2 separate regions of the Homo sapiens genome follow, and region 1 is linked to region 2. Evidence: promoter capture Hi-C in human tissues and cell types (Jung and others, 2019). All regions are on one chromosome and are shown on one strand. Each heading gives the region's core, a stretch centred on a gene start or on the middle of the fragment in contact. The rest is flanking DNA. Distances are from core to core; before and after follow the strand shown.

Region 1 (6,552 bases), core at 3,563-6,062, 460 kb after region 2:
CTAAATTTCGAAGTGATGAAAAAAAATGCTACCAACCAAGGATACTTAATCTGGGAGAAATTTACTTTAAAAATAAGACAACAATAAAGACTTTCTAACATGAACCAAAGGTAAGGGTGTTCATTACCCCTAGAAAAGTCTTATAAGAACTACTACATGGAGTCCATTATGTTGACAGACATGGTGGTTCACACCTGTAATCCTAGCAACTTTGTAGGCTGAGGCAGAAAAAGAATCATTTTAGGCCGGGAGTTTGAGACCAGCCTGGGTGATATAGTGAGACTCCTTCTCAAAGAAGAGACCTTTATAATAATTTTGTTTTTCAAGGAGAGGGTTTTAAAACCTGCTAGAACTAAAGATTGATTGAAGTCATTTTGAAAAGGCAGGTCCTCATATAGGTGGCAAACTTGAAAACCCTTGCTCTTTGGCTACAGGTCAAGAAATGGTTCAACTATTTTGACTTGACTTAAAATTCTGTAGTGACTCCATAACCATCTCCAGCTCCTTCCAGCCATAGCCTAGGAGTGGTTCTGCATATCCAGAGACCCAGAGAAAGATGCCTGTTTGTGGTTACAGCAGTAGGTCTGCAGACCTTGGCCTTTACTGTGCTCTCTGAAACAGTTCAGTGACTCAGTTTCAGCACTGATAGTCACAGTTTGTGGCAAGTTCTGCCAACTTAAGTACTCAAAGAGTTACTTGGGGAAATCTTGCCACATACTCAGTAAGAAACACACATCAGGCACACCATATACCAGCCGTACTGCAGAACACTGCCCTAGTGCTGGCCCTACAGATCCAAGTCCTAAAGGCAATTCCGTCTGCCAAGAAATAAGACAGGATTAACAACTACCCAGGCTCCTGGTAACAAACCCACTAAAAGCAAACTCCACAACAGACCAAGAAACAGCCATGTGACCCACATATAACCCCTCTCCACTGCATACCCAAGAAGATTCTATCAGCTAATTGACCCAAGAGAAGATTTGTACCTACTGAGAGCAGTTTATAAAATTGGAAAATTTAGATTCAATAAATGCCCTATTAAAATTTTAGTACAATTTTTCGAAGTAATAGAAAATTCAATCTTAAAATTTATATGGAATTACAAGAAACACTGAATATCCAAAGCAGTTTTGAGGATTAAAAACAAAGCTAGGGGCATTATACTTTCTGATTTTAAACTACATATGAAGGCTACTGTAATAAAAACAGGATGATGTGTGCATAAAAATGCACACCGATATCAGTGGAGCAGGATGGAGAGCCCGGAAACAAATCCATCCTTGTAAGATCAACTCATCTTTGACACTGAGCCACTGAGAATGCATAATGCAGAAAATATAGTCTCTTCCACACTTGGGGCTGGGAAAACTGAATATCCACAAGTAAAAGAATAAAATTAGACCACTTTTCTTACAATATTTAAAAATTAACTAAATATAAAATAAGGACTCTAATGAATGACATAAATTCTTAATAATCTTAAAAGAAAACATATGAAGAAACCTTAATATTGGTCTTGAAGTGAATTTTTGGATACGACAGCAAAAGTACAGCAATAAAAGCAAATATAAACAAATTAAACTGCATCAAACTAAAACACTTCTGTAGAACCAAGAAAAAATAGAATAAGAAAACCATATCTGATAAGTGGTTAGTATCAAAAATATATAAGAAACTCATGCAAATAAAAGGCAACAACTATAATAGTAATAACAAAATTTAAAAATAAGCCAAGGACTAAATAAATGTTTACAAATGAAAACATACAGTTGGGCAACAGGTATATAGAAAGGTGCTCAATGTCACCAATCTGGCAGATGCAAATTAAATTCATTGTGAGATATTACTTTATACCTGTTAGGACTGCTAATATCAAGAAGATTTATAACAAGTGTTGACAATATATTAAAGAAAAGATGCTGTACAATTTTAGTGACGTACAATTTTTTAGAGACATTATGAAATCTAGTATGTAGGTTCTTTTAAAAATTTTTTAATAGTACTGCTATACAATTCAGCTATCTCATTTCTGCATATACAATAAATTTACTATCTCAAAGAAATACCTGCACCTCCATGTTCATTGAAACATTTTTCACAATTGTCAAGATACAAAAGCAATCTAAAGTGTTTGTGGAAACTGACTGCACAAAAAAAAAACATGGCATGTATACAAAATAGAATATTATTCAGCCATAAAAAATAATAAAACCCTGACATTCTACAACATGGATGGACCTAGATGATGTTATGCCGAGTGAAACATCACAGAAACAGACAAATACTGTATGATCTCACTTCTATGGAGAATATAATAAGGTTGGACTCCTAGAAGAAGAGAGTATAGAGGTGAGTGCTAGGCCCTGGAGGTGGAGAAAGTGGAGTATGTTGTTCAAATGGTACAAATTTTCAGTTAAAAGACAAACAAGTTATGGTAACCTAAGGTACAGCTTTATGACTACTGAAAGTAATACTGTTATGTATGCTGAAAATTTGCTGAGAGATCTTAATTGTTTTCACTACAAAAAAGGTAACTTGTAAGGTCATAAATGTGTTTGTTCATTAATTTGATTGTATTAATCATTTCTTTATGTATACACATACAAAATCAATACACTGTATACAATACATAGGTATTCAATTATTATTTGTGAAAAAATTCGCCTTACTGGGATTATATGTGTGTCATACACATGCGTATATAAATGTGTTTATATATATACATATGAATGACACAATCACAGTGAGCTTCATACTAAATAAAACCACAAAACGATGTCGTTTAAAATAAAGTTAAAATTGAGAGTTTAATATGTACTCAGCAGACTGGGCACAGTGGCTCATACCTATAATCCTAGCATTTTGGGAGGCCAAGGCAGGCAGATCACCTGAGGTTGGGAGTTCGAGACCAGCCTGACCAATATGGAGAAACCCTGTCTCTACTAAAAAATACAAAATTAGCCGGGTGTGGTGGCACATGCCTGTAATCCCAGCTACTAGGGAGGCTGAGGCAGAAGAATCGCTTGAACCTGGGAGGCGGAGGTTGCAGGGAGCCGAGATCGTGCCATTGCACTCCAGCTTGGGCAACAAGAGCAAAACTCTGTCTCAAAAAAAAAAAAAAACCAAAAAAAACAAAACAAAACAAAACAAAAAAAATACTCAGCAATGTTTTAAGCTCCCCAATGACATAGTATATTTAATAAACGTATGAAGTAGATACAATGAACTATAATACATACAGTTGAGGAATTTGGCCATATTTACCAACATTTGTTTATATGAAAAGAATAACATTTGAAGTAACACAATTTTAGAGTTTGTTTCATTTAGGGAGATGCTTAGTGTTTTGATATAATTACTGAGTATAAATTTCTGTAAAATCACGTTTGAAGGTTCCATAGAATAGAAAATTATAAAGCAGGAAGCACACATCTTTTTGTGGTATTCCTGGGATTTCTGATCCAAACTGTAATATCACCAAAACTTAAATATTTAGACATTATCCAAAAACAGAACTTAAAAAAATGGTTTAATATAGTTTCTCAAAAATACAGATATTGCTGTTTCCCCAAAGCAATGGAAAAGCAGTCAAATCACACATTTTCTGTCAAGCCATGAAAGACTTTCATTATTGCTGTAAACTAAAAACAAAAAACAAAACAAAACACACACACAACACACACACACACATTACTGAAGGGGAAGTACAGTGCTTGGAAAATTCACAAGAATGGGACAAAAAATGTCCCTATGTTAAAGCAAGAGAAAGAAATGAAGGTTTCTCAGAAACCATTTCCACTGGAGCAGAGCTTCTGGAAGCATGTTTAAAGGTTTGGCTTCCTCCTTGACATTGGGATCCGTCATTTGTGTCATCTGCTTCATTCACTCCCACCTACCTGGGTGTTTGGCTACTGCCTCCTGTCTCTTCACTTTCCAAGGCTCTTTTCTTTGCTCCAGACAGGTCATCAAGTCTGGCTTAAAGATAGCAAGACCTGTTTTATTAGAAAAAAAAACATGACTCTTGCTAGGATAATCTGATTACTAATCTAGTACTATGCTCAGTAGAGAAGAGAGAACATTATAGAAGACTCTAGAAAATTAATTTTAATATACTGTTTCCTAACAGAAACTTTAGAATATTTAGAAAGTATTTTAAATTTGTGGTTCTTAGCTCTATTACCCAGTAATACTGAATCAAAAATCAGCTGTGAAAATTGCATTTTTAGGTGTGGGTAACAATATTTTATGCTACTAAATTTCTGATATTACCACTAATTTAGACTGAAGTATACAGATGAGCTCAAAAAAGGGAAAGATTAATGTTAAGATGAAACATCTTGAAGATTATATTTTCTACCTCAACAGATACCCAATTTTTTCTTTTTGAAGCAGGATTCTGAAACTCATTTATGCAAAGCAGAACCTCCAAAAAAATCAGAAGAAAATAAAATATTTAATGTAGAATATGAGTTGTATATTGAAGTTATTCTCACCCAAGGAGACCAGGTTTCCATAGTTCTCTAACATCACATCCCTATACAAACGCTGCTGAGCAGAGTCCAGGCATTCCCACTCTTCTGGGGAGAATTCTACAGCCACATCCCTGAATGTCAACACTCCCTGGAAAACAAAACATATTTACCAAGTGACCATAGAAAGAATTCTTGATTTGACATCAGGTAAAATGAGAATAAAGATAGCTGGTTCTGACTTATATGAGTTACTGGAGTTATCCAGTAGGATACTTTCTAGCACAGAAATATTCTCTAGTGTATTTTTAACTCTGAGAAAAGATGGCATAAGATCATGAAACCAGTGTATGTGCAATACTTTTCTTGATGATACAGTATAAAATAAAGGACATTAACACAGGCATGTACATTTCTTAATGCTACATTTACATAATACAAGAAAAGCTGTCTATAGTTCCCATATGGAAACTTCATGGTGAGTTAAAAGCATACTTCTCAAATCTTATTGTGTATAGCAATGAACAGGAGATCTTGTTAAAACCTAGATTTTGACTCTGAAGATCTAGCGTAAAGCTTGAGTTTCCAAATTTGTAAGAAGTTTGCCAGTGGTATCGTTGCTTCTGGCCCAAGGAGAATATTTTGTCAAAAATTCAGTAAGTGGCACAGCCTAGGTTTTTAGTTTATTTGACCAGTAAAGAAAGACGAGAGCCTTCATTTTCCATAGCAAGCGATATGCAAAGAGAAGGTAGGAAGAAAGAAGAGCTGTCAGATTAAACATGGCTAAATCTTGTTTTTGCACATCACTTGATAAACTCCCCAAGGTATCTATTAATAGAGAAAAATAATGAACTGTAGAGTGAAAAATATCTGTCAGAAAGCGTATTTACCAAGTAAATAAATTAAGATCAACTATATTAAAAGAAATTTGTATCAGGTGCTGATTAACAAAGAAGGATACAAGACTACTGTGCTATTATTAACATTAACACAAAAAAGGGTCAACAATCTGAGTCTAGTCATGAAGAAACATCAGTTTTAGGCAAAATGTAAGCTACAAATATCTCCCATGTTCTGTAATCTCTAATTTTTGGCTAAACTTTTTTTTTTTTAAACTTTAAGTTCTGGGATACATGTGCAGGTTTGTTACATAGGTATACATGTGTCATGGTGGATTGCTGCACCTATCAACCCGTCATCTAGGTTTTAAGCCCCACATGCATTAGGTATTTGTCCTATTGCTCTCCTTCCCCTTGCCCCCATCTGCTGACAGGCCCTGGTGTGTGATGTTTCCCTCCCTGTGTCCATGTGTTCTCATTGTTTGAATCCTACTTATGAGTGAGAACATGCGGTGTTTGGTTTTCTGTTCCTGTGTTAGTTTGTTAGTTTGCTGAGAATGATGGTTCCAGCTTCATCCATGTCCCAGCAAAGGACGTGAACTCATTCTTTTTTATGGCTGCATAGTATTCCATGGTGTATATGTGCCACATTTTCTTTATCCAGTCTATCATTGATGGGCATTTGGGTTGGCTGCAAGTCTTTGCTATTGTAAATAGTGCTGCAATAAACATATGTGTGCATGTGTCTTTATAGTAGAATGATTTAAAATCCTTTGGGCATATACCTAGTAATGAGATTGCTGGGTCAAATGGTATTTCTGGTTCTAGATCCTTGAGGAATCACCACACTGTCTTCCACAATGGTTGAACTAATTTACACTCCCACCAACAGTGTAAAAGCATTCCTATTTCTCCACATCCTTGCCAGTATCTGTTTCCTGACTTTTTAATGCTCGCCATTCTAACTGGTGTGAGATAGTATCTCATTGTGGTTTTGATTTGCATTCCTCTAATGACCAGTGATGATGAACTTTTTTTTATGTTTGTTGGCTGCATAAATATCTTCTTTTGAGAAGTGTCTGTTTACATCCTTCACCCACTTTTTGATGGGATTGCTTTTTTCTTGTAAATTTATTTAAGTTCCTTGTAGATTCTGGGTATTTGCCCTTTGTCGGATGCATATATTGCAAAAATTTTCTCCCATTCTGTAGGCTGCCTGTTCACTGATGACAGTTTCTTTT
Region 2 (7,609 bases), core at 518-3,017:
TCTTTTTGGATACTATCATTTCTTTCACAAATCTTAGAGAATCCAGTGGGCCGAAATTATTTCTGTGTTCTCCCCTCAATACCAGCATATGATTGATTGACCAGCAATATGTCTCCGGAAATGGACACTGGGTTGGTTTGAAGACAATCTTAACTTCTCAAAGGGTTTGCTTTTCAAAGGAAGAGTACACCAGGAGATTCCTCTCAGCCCCAGGGCATTCACCTGCTCCCTTGAGAGGCTACACTCCAACCTCAGGTTGTCCTCTGTCTCCCATTCCCAGATAACCAGAGTTCATTCCAGGCCAGGAGCTGAAATTTACCAGAGATTCTAGCATACACAGCCACAGTGGATATTTTGATTTATCCTCAGAAAGTACTGAAACCCAGGACCAAGGAAAAAACTGAAGAGTGACTAAGGACACATTACCTTATAAAGTTTCCAAAGGGAAACCTTGACCCAAAAATATTCTGATAAGATCTCTGTACCTAGGGAAGATTTAAAAAAAAAAAAAAAGGCACAGAGATTTTTTACAATACAGCATCAGGGGATGAGTCTTTGGTTTCTTCTCATGGGAAATATTTACAAACAGATAACAAATCTTTTTTAAAATGCCATCCATGCTTTGTCAAAAAATGATTAATTAAAATACAGTATTTCAAATGTACACTAAAGGACAAATAGTTGATAATGTGAATTAGGAAGGGGAAGTTGGCATTTGGGAATGTCAGAAGGAACTGGAAATTTAGTATTTTACTGCAAGCCAGAGTTAGGCTGAAGGAATGGGAAATGGGGAGGGGGAGGAGTCTTGAGACCCTGCTTGGGACACATGTGAAAAATGAAGGGGAAGATCTGTCCCCTGTGGAGTGTGAAAATAATTAAGTGGCAGGCAATTAGACTGAGGTCGCTCCAGTCCCAGGGTTTCTGGTTTTAAAAAAATCTAACTCAAATGCATTTTTTTGTAAATTACTACCTTGTGAAAAATAAAATTCATGTTTAACCAACTGTAAACTGCCAATTAACCTCTGATTACATGACCAGGAAATTTCCTCCTTCATTGTACAAATTAAGAAACTACATAACTCTACTAACCAATTACTGAATTTGGTTTTATCATACACCTTATACAAGTGTTTCCTTCAAACCCCTCCCACGGACCACTACTGCAAACCACAGCTGGGTGCTCCACAATTCTTGAATCACTGTTTGATTAAATTAATTTTTTTGCGGTGACTTTCATAAATTTTAATAGGGGAAAAGAGGGACAGGGAAGCCCGCGGAGGAAACCTCTTCCCATTCATGAACCCAGCACCCCGAGTCAGGATTCTCCCCTGACGACCCTCCCGTCGTCTCTGCACAATCGCTGCGGGTGCAGAGCTGCTCAGAGAGGGCTCCAGGCCAGGGCACAGTCACTGCGCAGGGAGGAGACAGGACGCCTGGTTCCGGCTGTCAGCCCAGCTGCCATGCTATGGCTTAAGGGGACTGAGGGCCGAGCTGTGCCAAGAACTCGGGGCCGCGGATTTTGCAGCCGACTGCGGGAAGACCCGAGTACTGCCACAGCCACTTCCGACCGGTTCCAACCAGCTCCCTCCCCCTCTCTCGGGATGTCGGACCCAGCACTCTCACCATTTCTAGGCTTCCGGGGGATCCTGGCGTCTTAGCTGTGAATCTCCCAATAACCAGATCACAGCGCCACAGAGGCTGGGCCTCTAGGAGTAAGAGGACGCAGAAAAGTGAAGGCCAGACCTGCAGCACCCGCTGCAGCGAGACAAAGACCCCGCCGCCTCCCGGAAGACGTCATGTCCGCTCCAGCTGGGTGCCTGATTGGACCGTTCCCAGCCCGGCGTCCCTGATTGGATAACGTTTAACAACCCGCCCCCTCAGGCCCTGAGTGACAGATGTGCTCAGGTGCTGGGCTGAAGGAAGACAGAGTTAAACCTAAGCAGCAGCCTTTTCCAGAAGGGCTTCCTCCCTGAGCTGAGTCAGGCCCACCCCAGAGGGCATTTGCATTTAACCTTGTGTATAAGGTCGTATGCATTTATAAATAACATATAGCTATTCACATCTGAATATAACAATTATTTTTAAATTCCAGATTTTATAACCGTACTGGCTTCTGGTCCTTTGAGCAGGCAGCCTGAGATTTTTTTCTTTTTTTTTTTTGAGACAGAGTCTCACTCTCACCCAGGCTCAAGCACAGTGGCACGATTTCGGCTCACCCCAAACTCCGCATCTCGGGCTCAAGTGATTCTCCTGCCTTAGCCTCCTGAGTAATTGGGATTACAGGCACCCGCCTCCACGCCCGGCTACTTTTTGTATATTTAATAGAGACAGAATTTTGCCATGTTGGTCAGGCTGATCTCGAACTCCTGACCTCAGGTGATCCACCTGCCTCGGCCTCCCAAAGTGCTGGGATTACAGAGCACATGTGAATTCCAAATTTTCTAGTAGTCAAACTTTAAGAATAAACAGGTGGAATTCACTCTAATTGAGATGGTTAGTCATTTAGGCTGGGCTCAGTGAGACCATTCTTGTGACCTCAGCTGAGTTCCTTCAGACATGTATCATCAGCTGCTTGTTGACTAGGCAGCTGTGCTTCTGGGGGTGAGCTTCTGCTTCTGAGGCTGTCAACAGAGGCAACTTGCTTCTCCTCCCCATACTATTTTATCTTCCATCTGGCTAACATGGGCTTTTTTCGCGGAGATAGTAGCCTTCTGAAAGAAAAACAGAAGCATGCAAAACCATTTGAGCCTACGCCTCAAACTAGCACACTGCACTGTTCACAGGTTTTTACTGCCCTGAGCAAATAAGGCCAGCCAGATCTAGGGTTTGGAAAACAGAACTGGATCTCAATGGAAACAGCTGTAAATGCACCTGGCAATGGGCATGGATAGCGGAGGGATGAAAAATTGCTAACATTTTTGCAATCAGTATCATTCTGCCTTTTTTTGCATATGTGGTTTATATAACTCTTCCACATCAAAAAAAAAAAAATTTGTGCAAAGACCCACAGCTATTAAGTGGCTGGGCTGGGACTCAGAATTAACTCCATTTGACCCTTGAAATCCTGGAGAGTGACACTTCTAAAATAGAAGCCAGATTTCTTTTAGATTTGTGCCCATATAGCACTGTTTATTATTATTGCTAGAAATAATCTTAAGAAATTGAAGAAGCACACGGTAGCTCACATCTATAATCCTAGCACTTTGGCAAGCTGAGATGGGAGAATCACTTGCGCTCAGGAGTTCAAGTGCAGCCTGAATAACATAGTTAAGATCCTATGTGCATGAAAATTTTTTTTTTTTTAATTAGCCAGTCATGGCCGGGCGCGGTGGCTCATGCCTGTAATCCCAGCACTTTGGGAGGCCGAGGAGGGCAGATCACGAGGTCAGGAGATCGAGACCATCCTGGCTAACACGGTGAAACCCCGTCTCTACTAAAAATACAGTCCCAGCTGCTCGGGAGGCTGAGGCAGGAGAATGGCATGAACCCACGAGATGGGGCTTGCAGTGAGCCAAGATCCCACCACTGCACTCCAGCCTGGGTGACAGAGCGAGACTCCGTCTCAAAAAAAATAAAAAATAAAAATAAATAAAAATAAAAATTAGCCAGCATGAGGCAATCCTGTAGTCCCAGCTACTCAGGTGGCAGAGGCAAGAGGATTACTTGAGCCTGGAAGGTCGAGGCTGCAGTGAGCCATGATTGGTTACGACACTGCACTTCAGCCTGGGTGGTGAGAGTGTGATCCTTTCTCCAAAAAAAAAAAAAGAAAAGAAAAGAAACAGAAAAGAAAAAAGTTGCAGGAGCATTTCAAAAGGACATAGCATATGTGGAAAAAGATAGATGAGGGATGAGTTGAGAAAATCAAAGCCCAGCAACACATTACTTATTTTTTATCATAGATAAAATCTGTAAACATCTAAAAAAAAAAACAAAACCTTCAGAGAAATTGAATGTAACAGAGTCTAAATGAACAAAGAATGATTTGCAAATCAGGCAGCCTGTGGGCCCAGAATAGGCTCAGAGAGACTCCAGCACAGCAACATGGTAAAAAAATTGATCAACAGAAAAAGCAAAGTGGCATACAGAAAATGAAATTGAGGTACAGAAACAGCCAAATTGATTACAGCTTGGGATTTGCCTTATTTGAACATGGTTTGAAGAGTTGATGTCCTTTTATTGGCAAAATCACAGTGGCTGGTACAGGAATGGGTTATAATCTACTTACATATCCAGTTAGGTTTCAGTTTAGTATGTACCAAAAAAAAAAAAAAAAGAAAAACAAACAAACAAAAAACCTACTGACCAAAATTAAACATGAAAACAGAGAGCTTCAGGCTATAATTTAACAATTTCTCCTTTTTGGTTATCTTCTCAATTTTGAGAGATAGACCAAGTTATCAGCTAAATAAATGGTCTCCTCATTTCAACCAAGCAGCCTGTTTCTTAAACCCCCGTAACTGAATCTCTGTAATACGTGTAATATATTTCTGTATAATCTCTATAATATATTTCTCCATGTGCAACTATGCATATTAGCAACTACACAGATACTTTTCTGTTTATGCAATAAGTAATCTCAAGAAATTCCATTATTTAGCACAACTTTAGTAAAAAAAGTCTATTGTGTAACCATAGCCTTTGCAGTAGAATCTGCTATAGAGACTATTATGAAGGATAAATGTCTAACCAATGCCTGATTTTTTTACCCTGAACCATGAAAAAAAAAAAAAAAAAAAGACCTAACAAATGATGCTTATTTAGAAGAGTAATGGCCAGGCAATGCTCTGAAACTTATTGTGAATGAGTTCTTTTTAACTTCTGAAGTAGGTTAAGAGCAGTGGACCTATATTCTGTGTTTCTGATATTATGAGGCAACAAATGTCCCATTAGAATTTCTCACCCACATTGACCCTTCATCTTGTACCTATCAAGGCATAAGTTTGTTCATATATAAAGTTGGCTGCAAAATTCTCTAGAGAATTAGATAATTAGTAGAGACGGGGTTTCACCATGTTGGCCAGGCTGGTTTCAAATGCCTGACCTCAAGTGATCCAACCGTCTCATCCTCCCAAAATGCTGGGATTACAAGCACGAGCCACTGTGCCCAACCTAATCCCAGCACTTTAAAAAGCCAAGAAACAAAGACTGTTTAAGCCTAGGAATACAAGTCCAGCCTGGGCAACATGGCAAAACCCTATGTTTACAAATAATACAAACATTAGCTGGGTATGGTGGCCCGCACTTGTAGTACCAGCTATTTAGGAGGCTGAGGAAGGCGAATTGCCTGAGCCCAAAAGGTCGAGGCTGCAGTGAGCCGTGATCAAGCCACTGTACTTCATTCTGGGTGACAGAGGGAGACCCTTTCTAAAAAAAATAAAATGCCAAAGCATATAAACTTAAACTTATGGAGTTTTCTGTGTTTCTTGTTTTTATCATTACTATTTCAATAGTTTTGGGGGTACAGGTGGTGTTTGGTTACATGAATAAGTTCTTTAGCAGTGGTGTGTGAGATTTTGGTGCACCCATCTACAGAGCAGTATACGCTGTACCCAATGTGTAGTCTTTTATCCCTCAACCCCACACCGCCCTTTCCCCCAAGTTTCTAGAGTCCATTATGTGACATAATTCTTATGCCTTTATATCCTCATAGTTTAGCTCTCACTAAAAAGTGACAACATGCCATGCTTGGTTTTCCATTTCTGGGTTACTTTACTTAGAATAATGATCTCCAACTTTATCCAGGTTGCTCTGAGTGCCATTATTTTGTTTTTTTGTTTGTTTGTTTTGAGACAGAGTCTTGCTTCGTCGCCCAGGCTGGAGTGCAATGGCGCGATCTTGGGTCACTGCAACCTCCGCCTCCCGGGTTCAAGTGATTCTCCTGCTTCAGCCTACTGAGTAGCTGGGATTAGAGGCACCTGCCACTACACCCAGCTAACTTTTGTATTTTTAGTAGAGACAGGGTTTCACCATGTTGAACAGGCTGGTCTTGAACTCCTGACCTCAGGTGATCCGCCCGCCTTGGCCTCCCAAAGTGCTGGGATTACAGGCCTGAGCCACCACACCCGGCCTGAGTTTCTTGCAGATTCTGAATATAAGTCCTTTGTTGGAAGCATGGTTTGTGAACCTTTCTTCTCACTCTGTGGGTTATCTGTTTACTGCTTGAATTATCTCTTTTGCTGTGCAGAAACTTTTCCGTGTAATTAAGTCACATTTATTTATCTTTTTTTGTCGCATTTGGTTTTGGGTACTTGGTCACAAACTTTTTGACTAAGCCAATGTGTAGAGGAGTTTTTTCTATATTATCTGCTAAAATTTTTATAATTTCAGGACTTAGACTTAAGTCTTTGATCCATCTTGTGTTGATTTTTTAAATCTTTTTTTGTTTGTTTGTTTGTCTGAGGCAGAGTCTCGCTCTTTTGCCCAGGCTGGAGTGAAGTGGAACAATCTCAGCTCACTGCAATCTTTGCCCCCCTGGTTCAAGCGATTCCCCTGCCTCAACCTCCCGAGTAGCTATGTAGCAGGATGAGCCGCAGACAAAACTCCTCAGACACTGGATTAAAGACGGAAGAGTTTTTTATCTGGCCGGGAGCGTCGGCAGACTCACGTCTTAAAAGCCGAGCTCCCCGAAAGAGAAATTCTTGGCCTTTTTAAAGGCTTGCAACTTTAAGGGGTCCACGTGAAAGGGTCGTGATACATCAAGCAAGCATGGGAAACGTGACTGGGGGCTACATGCATCAGCTAACAGAACAAAAAGCTTTACAATGCTTTTTTCATATAGTGTCTGGAATTTACAGATAACACAAGTAGTTTAGGTCAGGGGTTGATGTCATTATTGTTACTTTTTTTAACTCCTAGGGCCGGGTGGTGGTGCCAAGGTTGTCTGGCTATTTATCTTACTTTTGTTTTTTTTCCAACTTTTTGCTTTTTCTCTCCTCCTGTCTTGTGAACTAGGCAAGGTGTGGGAGGAGGGCAGCAGGAGTAGTAGTGGTCTCCTTCCTTAGCTGGAATTACAGGCACTGGCCACCACACCCGGGCTAATTTTTGTATTTTTGTATTTTCTTATTTTTTTGAGATGCAGTCTCGCTCTGTTGCCCAGGCTGGAGTGTAGTGGTGTGATTTGGGCTCACAGCAATCTTCGCCCCTGGGGCTCAAGCGATTCTCCTGCCTCAGCCTCCCAAGTAGCTGGAATTATAGGTGCCGGCCACAACGCCCAGGCTAGTTTTTGTATTTTTGTATTTTTTTGAGACGAAGTCTCACTCTGTTGCCCAGGCTGGAGTGCAGTGGCACGATCTCGGCTCACTGCAACCTCCATCTCCTGGGTTCAAGCAATTCTCTTGCCTCAGCCTGCCGAGTAGCTGGGATTACAGGCACACACCACCACACCCAGCTAATTTTTGTATTTTTAGTCTCCATGTTGGTCAGGCTGATCTTGAACTCCACACCTCGTGATCTGCCCGCCTCAGCTTCCCAAAGTGCTGGGATTACAGGCGTGAGCCACCCCGGCCAATTTTTGCATTTTTAGTAGAGACAGTGTTTTGCCATGTTAGCCAGGCTGGTCTGGAACTGCTGGTCTCAGGTTATCTGCCTGCCTTGGCTTCCCAAAGTGCTG

Evidence for each region. Contacts are between HindIII fragments. The study calls those that stand out against the background at their distance.
Region 1: a contact is called between a fragment that was not itself captured here and the fragment with the promoter of ZNF138 in region 2, in 1 of the 25 tissues and cell types used here (lymphoblastoid cells).

The regions. Positions count from the first base shown.
Region 1 is chr7:64,334,330-64,340,881 of GRCh38, reverse strand. It overlaps ZNF736 (zinc finger protein 736), which reads right to left. Exons shown (of 4, transcript NM_001170905.3): 2 at 4,497-4,623; 3 at 3,900-3,995. Among named protein-coding and RNA genes, the nearest start is that of ZNF736, 24 kb to the right of the region's middle. The HindIII fragment of the contact is 5,723 bases long and covers 1,951-6,552 here.
Region 2 is chr7:64,788,586-64,796,194 of GRCh38, reverse strand. It overlaps ZNF138 (zinc finger protein 138), which reads right to left and starts at 1,767. Exons shown (of 4, transcript NM_001271639.2): 1 at 1,624-1,767. The coding sequence starts at 1,626. RefSeq lists enhancers at 1,167-1,727, 1,512-1,751, 1,992-2,041. The HindIII fragment of the contact is 15,546 bases long and covers 1-7,609 here.